3 separate regions of the Homo sapiens genome follow, and all the other regions are linked to region 3. Evidence: promoter capture Hi-C in 16 types of primary human blood cells and fetal thymus (Javierre and others, 2016). All regions are on one chromosome and are shown on one strand. The core of a region is centred on a gene start or on the middle of the fragment in contact, and the rest is flanking DNA. Distances in the headings are between cores, read along the strand shown.

Evidence for each region. Contacts are between HindIII fragments. The CHiCAGO score rates a contact against its expected background, and 5 or more counts as called.
Region 1: a fragment that was not itself captured here is called in contact with the fragment with the promoter of PRRG3 in region 3 in 1 of 17 cell types (activated CD4 T cells); the score reaches 5.4 in activated CD4 T cells.
Region 2: a fragment that was not itself captured here is called in contact with the fragment with the promoter of PRRG3 in region 3 in 1 of 17 cell types (total CD4 T cells); the score reaches 6.0 in total CD4 T cells.

What each region holds. Positions count from the first base shown.
Region 1 is chrX:151,215,806-151,219,694 of GRCh38, forward strand. No RefSeq gene overlaps it. Among named protein-coding and RNA genes, the nearest start is that of GPR50-AS1, 40 kb to the left of the region's middle. The HindIII fragment of the contact is 5,772 bases long and covers 1-3,889 here.
Region 2 is chrX:151,191,760-151,195,750 of GRCh38, forward strand. No RefSeq gene overlaps it. Among named protein-coding and RNA genes, the nearest start is that of GPR50-AS1, 16 kb to the left of the region's middle. The HindIII fragment of the contact is 8,683 bases long and covers 1-3,991 here.
Region 3 is chrX:151,692,668-151,696,741 of GRCh38, forward strand. It overlaps PRRG3 (proline rich and Gla domain 3), which reads left to right and starts at 2,791. Exons shown (of 4, transcript NM_001372163.1): 1 at 2,791-2,877. The HindIII fragment of the contact is 4,373 bases long and covers 1-3,352 here.

The sequences.
Region 1 (3,889 bases), core at 68-2,567, 480 kb before region 3:
TTTTAATATGTTTATTTTGCTATCTGTACCTCTTCTTTGATGAGGCATCTGTTCAAATCTATGGCCCATTTTTAAATTGGTTTGTATGTTTTCTTGTTGTTGAGTTTTGAGTTCTTTGTACATTTTGGATACAGTCCTTAATCAGATATATGTTTTGCAAATATTTTCTCCTACTCTGTTGTTTGTCTTTTCGTTCACTTAACAGAGTAGTTTTGAATTTAATGAAGTTTAATTTATCATTTTTTTCTTTTATAGATTGACCTTTTGTTAAAGTCATTACCAAAGTGAAGGTCACTCAGATTTTCTCCTTTGCTATCTTCTAGAAGTTTTATAGCCTTGCATTTTACATTTAACACTTATAGTCTATTTTAATTATATCTATTTAATTTGGGGAAAAGGTGTAAATTCTGTCTCTAGATTCTTGTGGGGCTCTTTGTTTATTTGTTTTTGGGCTTTAAAAAATCTTTTTACATGTGGTTGTACAGTTGTTCCGGCACCATTTGTTAAAAAGAATGCTTTTTTCCGTTGAATTACCTTTGCTCCTTTGTCAAAAATAAGTTGACTATATTTGTGTGGAACTCTTTCTGGGCTCTCCATTCTCTTTCATTCATTTATTTGTCTGTTCTTTCATCAATACCACACTACCTTGATCACTGTAGCTTTATGGTATGTCTTGAAGTGTGATAGTGTAAATCTTCTGACTTTGTTCTTCTTCTTGGATCTTTCCTAAGCATGTACACAATCATGGGCATATGCACAGCCTTAGGCGTATGTGAGGTCTTCCAGATTTCCAGGAACATTTTGGAGCTTTTTAAAGCCCTCTATGGTCATCTCATTCCCCAGTTTTTCCTCTCAAGTTTTTTGGTCAGCTTCTTATTAATCCCAACTGATAATGTAGCCTCAGGCAGTTCCGATATTAATTGCCAATGATTGTTTTCGACAAATGCCTTGGGGATAAGCCTATTAACACAGAGTAAGCTCTGAGTCAGCTCAAAGAATGACAACTCCTGAGCATGGAACTTTTCTGCAAGTTATCGGACAATCAGAATAGCTGACAATTGGAATTTCTCTGGGGATGGGACCTTTGGATGCTTGTAAACCTCTATGCCCTTTCTAGTGGCTACTAGGTTACTGATTTTCACAGCTACTATTATTGGGACACTGTTGGTTTTTAAGGTTACTATGGGACTAAGGGAGAGGAATGGAAGTAGGGCAAGTTAAAGCACCATGAAACTCACTGTTCTTACCAAGATGTAGTGATTTTTTTCTTGAGTAAACGCTCTGTGGATTATTGCTAGCCTTAGGTTAATTTCTGGAGTTCTAAAAAATTTGATTTTTCACAGTTTTTATGGTGAAAAAAACTTTTTTTTTCACCATAAAAAAAGACTTCATTGCTTTTATTAAGAAACACATTTTTGGAATTCCTTACTCTGCCATTCTAGAAGCGGTCTCCTGTACTTAGATTTTTTTCATTTGGGTAGTATGTCATGGACCCACTCCACATCAGTTCATAGAGATCTTCCTTATTCTTTTTTGTTTTTTTTTTTTTTACAGCTGTATGGAATGCCACTGAGCTGATGTTGCATAATTTATTTAACCACTTTTCTATGTTCAGGCATTTAAGTTGTTTCCAATATTTTGCAATTACAAACTATGCTGCAATGAATAACTTTGGCCATATGTATTTTTGAATTGTAAAAAAAGTTCATATTCGAGGATAGTTTCTTAGAACTGGGATTTCTGAGTTGAAAGGTTATGTTAGCTGTTGCCAAATTCCTCCTCAAAGAGTTGTACCGGTTTGCATTCTCAGTAGCAATGAGAATGCCTATTTCCCTAAGACTCATCAACAGAATTGGCAGTTACACTTTTGGGTGTCTGGTCCTTTGACACTTAGTCTTTTAAAATTTCCAATTACTCTTTATTTTTATAGAGTTGCTAATCACAAATTATGCCTGAGATTTGATATTCTTGTGAAAGTATTTCAGATCAAATTAAATGTCTTTTCAGTGGCTATGATTCACCATGATTAAATCCAACATGTTTGACCAAGTTGTTAATTGACTGTTCTTAATTCTGGTGGAAGTTCTGGAGATCAGCAACAATTTTGGAATAGGTTCAGCAGCCTGGGTAATTCTCATCACAGTCAAGCCAGATAGGGACTGAGATTCTATTACTGAATGAAACTCTTATAAGGGCTTGGGAGTGCAGATAGGGGGAGTTCTCAAGAAATTTTACAAGAAAGTGTTATGTATTATGAAGCATGGGTTATTGTTTGTTTGTAAGTAAAAAAAAATAAGAGAGAGAGAGAGATTAAGCAAAATAAACATTAAGCAAGGAGAAGCTGCTCTAACCATTTAAATGATACTTTTAAAATGAAGATTAACAGCCTTTGGCAGACTAGAAGAAAAAAAATAAAAGAAAAATGTCAAGCAGAAAACAGTTACCACAGATTTGATCAGTATTTACTATCAACTGTAAGACCGTTCTAGGCAGGTGGGGTCTATGGGAAATACAAAGATAAATGAGAGAGAATCCCCTAAAACCAATAATATTGCTTTATGTTTAATTTATCACTTATTAAGATCCTACTATGTGACAGACACCACTTCAGGCACTTGACTTCTCTTATTTCTTATCCAAAACATTGCTGGGTTGATATTATTACTCCCATTTAACAAGAAGGAGATTGAGGCCAAGAAAGGTTAAGAAACTTGTCTAGAGTCACAAAGCTGGAAAGTTGTGCAACTTGAAACCAGATCTGCTTAGAGAATGTTGAATATCAACTGTGCATAGTATTTCATAGTAAATTATATTAAGATTAATCAAACCAGTTTAGCCTAAGAGAACAGCAGCAATAGCTAAACTTATTAGATATTTTCTATATGCCTAGAACAGCATTGAACAAATATGGACCATTATATTTAGTCTTCAGATTGAATTTTTTTTTTTTTTTTTTTTTTGAGATAGGGTCTTGCTCTGTCACCCAGGCTGGAGTGTAGTGGCACAATCACAGTTCACTGCAACCTCTGCCTCCCAGGTTCAAGCGATTCTCCCACCTCAACCTCCAGACTAGCTGGGACTACAGGTACATGCCACCACACCTGGCTAATTTTGTATTTTTTTGTAGAGACGGGATCTCACTATGTTGCCCAAGCTAGTCTTGAACTCCTGGGCTCAAGTGATCTACCCCCTTCGGCCTCCCGAAGTGCTGGGATTACAGGCGTGAGCCATTGCATCCGGCCCAGACTGAATTTAAATCCCTGCATTCTCTACATTCTCTATAAGACTACCACCTATCTCACTGCCTATGTTAAAATCCTGGGTTTCATCCAGGACTCCTACCTTACCCACATAATTTGGTTTATAAATCCAGTAAATTCTGCCTCTTTAATAAGTCTTTATCTTTTTTCTTAATCCTTATAGTCACTACCTTATTTTGATGCACCATTATCTCTCAGATGGATTACTTTAAGTTTCTGAACCCCTCTCCCTGCTTTTCTAATTCACATTCACCAAGTCAACAGAGTGTTCTTTCTAAACTGCAGATCTAAACATATCTCTCCTCTTAAACCAGGGAAGCATACTCTAAACCTCCAGCTTGATAGTACACTACTTTGACCCACTCTGTACATTAGGCTTATTGAACTGCCTGCCTATCTCTGGTCCTGCCTGGTATGTCCCTTAATATTTTTTATTTGTACAAATTTAAGGGGTACGAGTGCGATTTTGTTATATGGATATATTGCATAGTGGCAAAGTCTGGGCTTTTGCCCCTCGATTTTTAAGAGTTCTTCATATATTAGATAGATCTGTCCTTTCTCTGTGTTATATGTCGTAAATATTTTCTACCAGTTTGTCACTCATGTTTTGATTTTGTTATGGTGCATTT
Region 2 (3,991 bases), core at 1,230-3,729, 500 kb before region 3:
ACCATGCTGGCTTTAGGTGTGACCCAGCACATTCCCAGCTCTAGTGGCCATGGGGAGAGAGTTCTTCTGCTTGAGGAAAGGAGAGGGAAGAGTAAAATGGACTTTGCCTTGCAACTTGGGTACCAACTGAGCCACAGTAAAATAAAATACCAAACAGACCCCTAAAGACCCTGATTCCAGGCCTCAGCTCCTGAAGGATATTTCTAGACCTGCCCTGGGCCAGAAGGGAGCCCACTACCCAAAAGAAAGATCCAGTCCTGGCACTATTCTTCACCTGCTGACTAAAGAGCCCTTGAGCCTTGAATAAACATCAATGATAGGCAGGAAATAGCCGCCACCCAGGCCTAGGACAAGACCCCGTCCTGTGCTGGCTTCAGGTGTGACCCAGTACAGTCCCAGCAGTGGTAGCCACGGGAGTACTTGCATCACCTCTCTCCCAAATCCATGCAACATAGCACACAGAGAGAGACTCTATTTATTTGGGAAAATGGAAGAGAACAAGAGACTACCTGGTAATCCATGGAATTCTCTCAGGTCTTACCCAACACTGTCCAGGTGGCACCTCTACAAGTCTGCAAAAATCACAGAATTACTGGGTTTAGAGTGCCCTCTAATGCACATATGGCTGCAATGACCAAACACTTAGATTATAACACTCAATCATCTTTGAATACTTGGAAAGCCTTCTCAAGAAGAATGGGTGCAAACATGCCCAGACTGCAAAAATTAGAAGAAATACTTAACTCTTCAATGCCCAGACATTGATGAATACCCACAGACATGAAGACCTTTCAGGAAAACAGGACTTCACCAAACAAGCTAAATAAGGCACCAGTGACCAATTCCAGAGTGACACAGATATGGGACCTTTCAGACAGAGAATTCAAAATAGCTGTTTGGAGGAAGCTCAACACAATTCAAGATAACATAGAGAAGAAATTCAAAATCCTATCAGATAAATTTAACAAAGAGATGCAAGTAACTAAACAAAATTAAGCAGAAATTCTGGAGCTGAAAAATTCAATTGACAACTTGAAGAATACATCAGAGTTTCTCAACAGCAGAACTGATCAAGCAGAAGAAACAATTAGCGAGCTTGAAGACAGTCTATTTAAAAACACAAAGTCAGAGGAATAAAAAAAAAACAGAATACAAAATAATAAAGTATGACTATAGGATCTAGAAAGTAGCCACAAAAGAGCAAATCTAAGAGTATTGGCCTTAAAGAGGCGGTAGAGAGAGAGAGAGTGGAATAGAAAGATTATTTGAAGAGATAATAATGAGAACTTTTTAAACCTAGAGAAAAATGTCAATATTCAAATGCAAGAAGGTTATAGAATACCAAACAAATTTAACCCCCAGAAGACTATGTCAAGACATGTAATATTCAAACTGCCAAAGGTCAAGAATATATTGTGGGCTTTTTTTGTTTGTTTTTGTAGAGATGTGGTTTCGCTGTGTTGCCCAGGCTGGTCTCAAACTCCTGGGCTCAAGGAATCCACCTGACTTGGCCTCCCAAAATGTTGGCATTACAGGCATGAGCCATTGTGCCTGGCCCCAAAGGTCAAGGATAAAGAAAGCATCCTAAAAGCAGCAAGAGAAAAGTAAAAATGAACAAACATACAAACACAAAAGGAGTTTCAATATGTCTGGCAGTAGATTTCTCAGTGGAAACCTTATAGGCCAGGAGAGAGGGGCATGATATATTTAAACTGCTAAAGGAAAAAATCTTTTATCCTAGAATAGTATATTCAGTAAAAATATCCTTGAAACATGAAGGAGAAATACTTTCCCAGACACACAAAGGCTGAGGGATTTTATCAATACCAGACCAGTCCTATAAGAAATGCTAAAGTATCCAAAACTCAGGCAATAACAAGTGCTGGCAAGAATATGGAGAAAAGGGAACCCTTGTACACTGTTGGTGAAAAGGTAAATTAGTACAACTACTGTGGAGACCAGTTTTGAGGTCCCTCAAGAAACTAAAAATAGAATTACCTTGCAATCCAGCAATCTCACTCCTAGGTATATAACCAAAAGACAGGAAATCAGTATATCAAACATGTATCTGTACTCTCATGTTTATTGCAGCACTATTCACAATAGTCAAGATTTGGAAGCAATGTGTCCATCAACAGATGAATAGATAAAGAAAATGTGGCACATATATACAGTAGAGTACTATTCAGCCATAAAAAAGAATGAGATCCTGTCATTTGCAACAACATGGATGGAACTGGAGGTCATAATATGAAGTGAAATAAGCCAGGCACAGAGAGACAAACATTTCATGTTCTCAATAATCTGGGGACCTAAAATTTGAAACAATTGAACTCATGGAGATAGAGAGTAAATGGATGGTTACCAGAGGCTGGGAAGGGTAGTGGTGGGTGGTGAGGGAAAGTGGGGAGAGTTAATGGGCACAAAAAAAATAGAAAGAATGAATAAGACTTAGTATTTGCTAGCACAAGAGGAGGGCTATAGTGAAAAATAATTTAGTGGTACATTTAAAAATAACTAAAAGAGTATAACTGGATTGTTTGTAACACAAAGAATGGATAAATGCTTGAGGTGATGGATACCTCATTTACTCTGATGTGATTATTACATATTGTATTCCTGTATCAAAACATCTCACATACCCCATACATGGATATACCTATCAGGTGCCCACAAAAATTAAAAATTAAAGTAAAAAAAAAAAAAAAAAGAAATGCTACAGGGAGTTCTTCAATCTGAAAGAAAAGGACATTGATGAGCAATACGCAATCATCTGAGGGTACAACACTCTCTGATAGCAGTAAGTACACAGACAAATACAGAATATTATGCCACTATAATTGTAGTGTGTAAACTACTCACATCTTGAGTCAGAGAATAAAAGATGAACCTATCAAAAGTTTTGAACAAGTTTTGAAGACGTAGAAAGTATAATAATATATAAATAGAAAAAACAAAAAGTTAAAAAGCAGGAGAGATGAAGTTAAAATGTAGAATTTTATGAGTTTTATCATTGCATGTTTGTTTGTTTTTGCAATCAGACTTAAGTTGTCATCACTTTCAAATAATGGGTTATCAGTGGAACAGAATAGAGAACCCCCAAATAAGGCGACACACCTACAACTATCTGATCTTTGACAAGCCCGACAGAAATAAGCAATGGGGAAAGAACTCCCTATTCAATAAATAGTGCTGGGACAACTGGCTAGCCATATCTAGAAGACTGAAACTAGACCCCTTCCTTACAACCTAAACAAAAATTATAATAGCTCAAGATTAATTAAAGACTTCAGTGTAACACCAAAAACTATAAAAACCCTAGAATAAAACCTAGGCAATACCATTCTGGACATAGGAATGGGCAAAGATTTTTTTTTTTTTTTTAGAGCCACAAGTAGTTCTGATTTTATTTAATTTCAAAAATTTTACTTATACAGAATAGTTGTACATATTTTCAGAGTACATGTGATAATTAAATAATTCATATAATTTGTAAAGATCAAAACAGTACATTGGGATATCCATCACCTTAAATATTTGTCTTTTTTATCTTAGAAACATTTGAATTATTCTTTTTTAGCTATTTTGAAATATACAATAGGTCATTGTAAACTATAGTCACTCTACTGATCTTTCAAACACTAGGTCTTGTTTCTTCTTTCAAATTGTACATTTGTACCCATTAATCAACCTCTTTTTATCCTCCCTCCCTTCTATCCTTCCTGGCTTCTGGTAACCACAATTCTACCCTCTATCTTTATGAGATCCATGTTTATTAGCTCCCGCATATGAATGAGAACATGCAATATTTGTCTTTTTGTGTTTGGCTTATTTCACTTAACATAATGACCTCCAATTCCATCCATGTTGCTGCAAATGACAGGATTTCATTCTTTTTATGGCTGAATAATATTTCATTGTGTATCTATACCACATTTTCTTATCCATTCATCCTTTGATGGGCACTTAGGTTGATTCCATATTTTGGCTA
Region 3 (4,074 bases), core at 1,541-4,040:
GGAGAAGGTGAGGAATCACAAGTGGTGGGTGACTGAGAATTCTGTTACCTGGGATAGGATCGGGGATATTGGAAATGCCACCCATAGGCACGATGGCTTACATACTTCGTGGGACCCAGTGAAAGTGAAAATGAAGGCCTCTTGTTCAAAAAGCATTAGAATTTCAAGATGGTGATAGCACAGCCTTGAGCCAGGTGTCCAGAGCCCTCTTAAGCACAGGGCCCTGTCTGACTCCATGGGTCATACACCCACAATTCCGGCTCTGCCGGAACAGAAATGGGGGCAGGTAAGAAGGCAATGGAGGCCTTCTCAGCCCCAGCCCCTCCAGCCTCAGCTTGACAAGTCTCTAGAGAGCACCAGCTGTGGATGAGGTTCTGTGCGAGATGGTAGGGACACAGGAAGAGACAAGGTCCCTGGCCCCAAGAGAGGAGGCAAGTGTGCACGTAAGTGAGCTACCAAATGAACACAAGGTAGCTGGATGCAGGCCAGCTGATGTGCATTAAGCTCACACTTAAGCGCCAGGCACATTCTATGTGATTAGCTCCACTACCCGCTTAGCAACGCTTTGAGGCAGGCACTGTTAGCATCATTCTCATCTGAAAGGTAAGGAAACCGAGATGCAGAGAGGTCAAACACTTGCTGGAGATAATAGAGCCTACTATGTAGTACCACCAAGAGGTGCAGCAGGCACTACGCTCCAGAGGCACTGCTATTCCTCCTCCCCCACCTTGCTATCCACCGAGGCCCCCATGTTCATAGTCTCTGCAGATAGTCCTGAGAGTGGAATGGCGGACTGGGGTGCAGGAAGGATCCTGCAAGACCTCACAGTAGAGATGTCATGCGCACTGTGTGGGAAGAATGAATGCAAGTGCTCCAGGTCCACAGTGGGAGGAAAGGCATTCTGGGCAGTGGGAAGTAGAAGTAGCCTCATGTGGCTGGAGCCAGAAGCTAAAGTGGGAGTGCCAGAAGGAGGGCAGAAGCCATAGACCCTTGTGCACATACTGGAAGAGCTGCTTTTTTAACAGTCAAGTGCACAAGGGTCTATGCGGTGTTAAGATCACGATGGGAACATGCTGGTGGGCTAGGAAACTCAAGAGGTTAGTTCCAGAAGAGTCTGTGGAATTCTGCCCCACAGGCTCCGGAGGCATGGGGGGAAGGCCATAGAAGAGCTGTCGTGGGTAAGGAAGATTCCTGCAGCCGTGAAATAGCAAGCAAGCTAGGGAAGAACTCTAACAGGAGGCAGAAATGGAAGGGAAAGCACCATGCGGGGAGAGAAGTGTAGAGGCAGGCATCGGGGGAGCTAGGGGAGCCAGGCCCTGGGGGTTGGAGGGGAGGCGGCCGGTGGCAATGAAGGCCTTCGCCCACCCCTCTTCCGCCCCCTGGCAAGGCAGGTTGCTAATACCCGCCCTGGGATAGGGGTGGGAGTGGTTCTGGAACCGCCTTCTGAGACTCATTCCCATCAAAAGCAACACTTGGGGTGGAGGGAGGAAGAGGACGCCAACCCCAGTGCCTGGCCGGGTTCTAGATGTGCAGAGAACAAAAAGGAACCCTAAAAACCCAGCATCCCCTTCTCCGAGGGAGGCTTTCCTAGACCCAGAACCTCAGCCCACCCGGAACCCCTTTGCCCCTCTCTTAGCAGTGGACCTGTCATGTGGTTCCTCCTGGACTAGTGTAATCTCTGCTATGCGTCTTGTCCTGCCATGCTGAACTTCTCACAGTGCGGCCTCCGAAGGAGCCCCCATCTAGCGCTCCTTGCAGTCGCAGAAGATTCCTTCTCCCCTTACTGAGCCTTAGAGTTTTCCAAACCCATTTCCTCCTTCAAATCGCTGCAGCCTCGCGAGGGAGGCAGAATTCTCCCCATTTCTCGGACTTTGCAGGAGAGAAGCCTGCCTTCCCGGGGCAGGGTGGGGGTAGGTAAGTGAAGAAGCCAAGGTCACCCAGTCATTGGCGGAACGCGGCCTCGACTCGGTCCTTCTTCTGAGGGCCCTGTGGATCCCTGGCAAGGCAGGCCTAGGTTGCAGGCTAGCCCCCCTCTCTTTTCGTTGGCCCCAGGAGCCCGGCGGGCCTGAATGGCAGGTGAGCCCGGGGGGTGGGGACAGGACGCGGGTTGGGCTGCGCAGGGACGCCTGGCGCGCGGGCCTTGGGAGCGGCCGCCGGAGCTCCCTGCTACGCCGTATCTTCCGAGGGCCCACGCCTTGGGTCACGACTGGACCAGGGCTTTGACCAAGGGTCCTCTGTGTGCCCCAGGCCCGCCAGTCAGGCCCCGCCCCCCGGCGGCACGGGCGGGGGCAGGGGCGGCGCCGGCAGAGTGGGGCGCGGGCGCGCGGTGCTCGGTGCGCGCCGCCGCCCCTCCGGCCCGGCTTGCCCGCCCGCTCTCCCAACCCCCTCGGCCCACTCCGTCGCCCCCACCCCTCCTTCCTCCACTCGGCCAGGCGGCCGGCGGCCCGGTGCGCGGGGCAGCGCGACGATTGCGGCCTGGCGATCGGGGCACTGCGGTCGTGGCGCGCGAGGCGCGGGGCGCGAGGCCAGCCCTGGAACGGCGGGGTGTGGGGGGCGGGCAGCTGCGGAGCCCCCAGAGGAAAGCAGGGGCAGGCAGGGGGGTGCCGAGGTAATGGGCCGGGCCTGGGCGCCCGGCTGCGAGGGGCGGGGGTTCCAGGCGCACTTCGGCCCTGGAGGGGCGGGCGACAGGGTGCCCGGGGCGGTGGGAGGGCAGCGGGGAGGGGAGGAAGGGAGGGAGGAGACGGCTGGGCCGGACCGGGGGGCTTGGCCGACGGGGAGCAGGTGGGCGGGGACAGGGCCCCTGCTGGAAGAGGCGCAGCAGCGAGGTGGCGGGCTGCGTGCGCAAACAGGGCGGCCGCCTTCTGGGCCCGGAGAACGGTGAGGCCATTTGGGTTGGGTGTCCCAGTCCCGAGGGCACGGTTCGGTATCCAGGGCCAACGAGCTGGGTGCAGGGCATTGTTGAGGAGGGAAGATCTAGAGGCCTGTCCGGGCCAAGGGGATGGGGCGTATTGAACAGCTCCGGGAGAAGAGTGTTGCTGGGTCAGGGCGCTGGTGTCCAGCGAAGGTGGGCGAGGACAGGCACTTTCAGGGCTGGCCTGAGTGGAAAGGGACAAGGGGGCCCCAGAGTTTGAGTTTGAGCATAATTTGGGAGTTGTCGTGTCACTGGGTGGGTCGATGAGTCATGCGATTTGGAGAACCCTTTCCTGGCGATCAGTTCTGAGGGATGGAAATAAAGTCTAGGGTTTGGAGAAGTGGTTTGGAGGCCATGTCTTGGGACACCAGGTGCTCTGGTGGTCACCAGGCTTCATGTGAGGGACTTTGGGAGTTGTGTCCCAGAGGCCTGAGATTCAGAAGCTTCAGTCTGGGGTGGAGTTAAGCAAGGTCTTTGTGGTGGCCAGTTCCCTGCCTTCCTTCCTTTCCAGGCTGTCAGGATTCAGCTGTGTTCCTGCGGGGAGTGGGTTAAAAATTCCTTCCGCCTACAGTCAGCTTTACAGTATCCACCAGGGGCATGGGGGACATATACATGTGTGGCTGCAGCATCATTCTTTGTCGTGGAGCCCTCACGATTGCTTCCTTATTGTTGCCATAGTAACTGTCTACTGATGGTGTATTTATAGGGGAAGAAGCAGGCGCTACATTTTGGGGAGGGAGGGGGAAGAGGCCTCGTGGCAGGCAGCAGCAGCAGTGAAGGTGGCTACAGAATTGCTAATGGAGTGGGCCATGCCATGGGAACTGTTTTGGGGGTGTTCCTGGCTCGACTGAAGCTTAAAAATGAACTGGTGACTTTAGCAGGTGCGTCAGGATAACATGTATTCGGGTCTATGATAGGTGTGACATATAGCCACCTTTGACCAAGGCTAGGTGTGTGGGGGACAAAAGATGGATATATGTAATCTATTATGTAAATTTTTCTCCATTTTTTTAAAAAACCACTGCAGTTTCCTTTGATAAGCATATTTTTCTCTCTTCCCTTATTAAGACTATATGCATTCTTCTCAAACCCAGATACAACAGCTCCATTTTTCTTCAAGCAAAAAATCCTTGCCATGAGGCATACTATATCCACACCCTCAC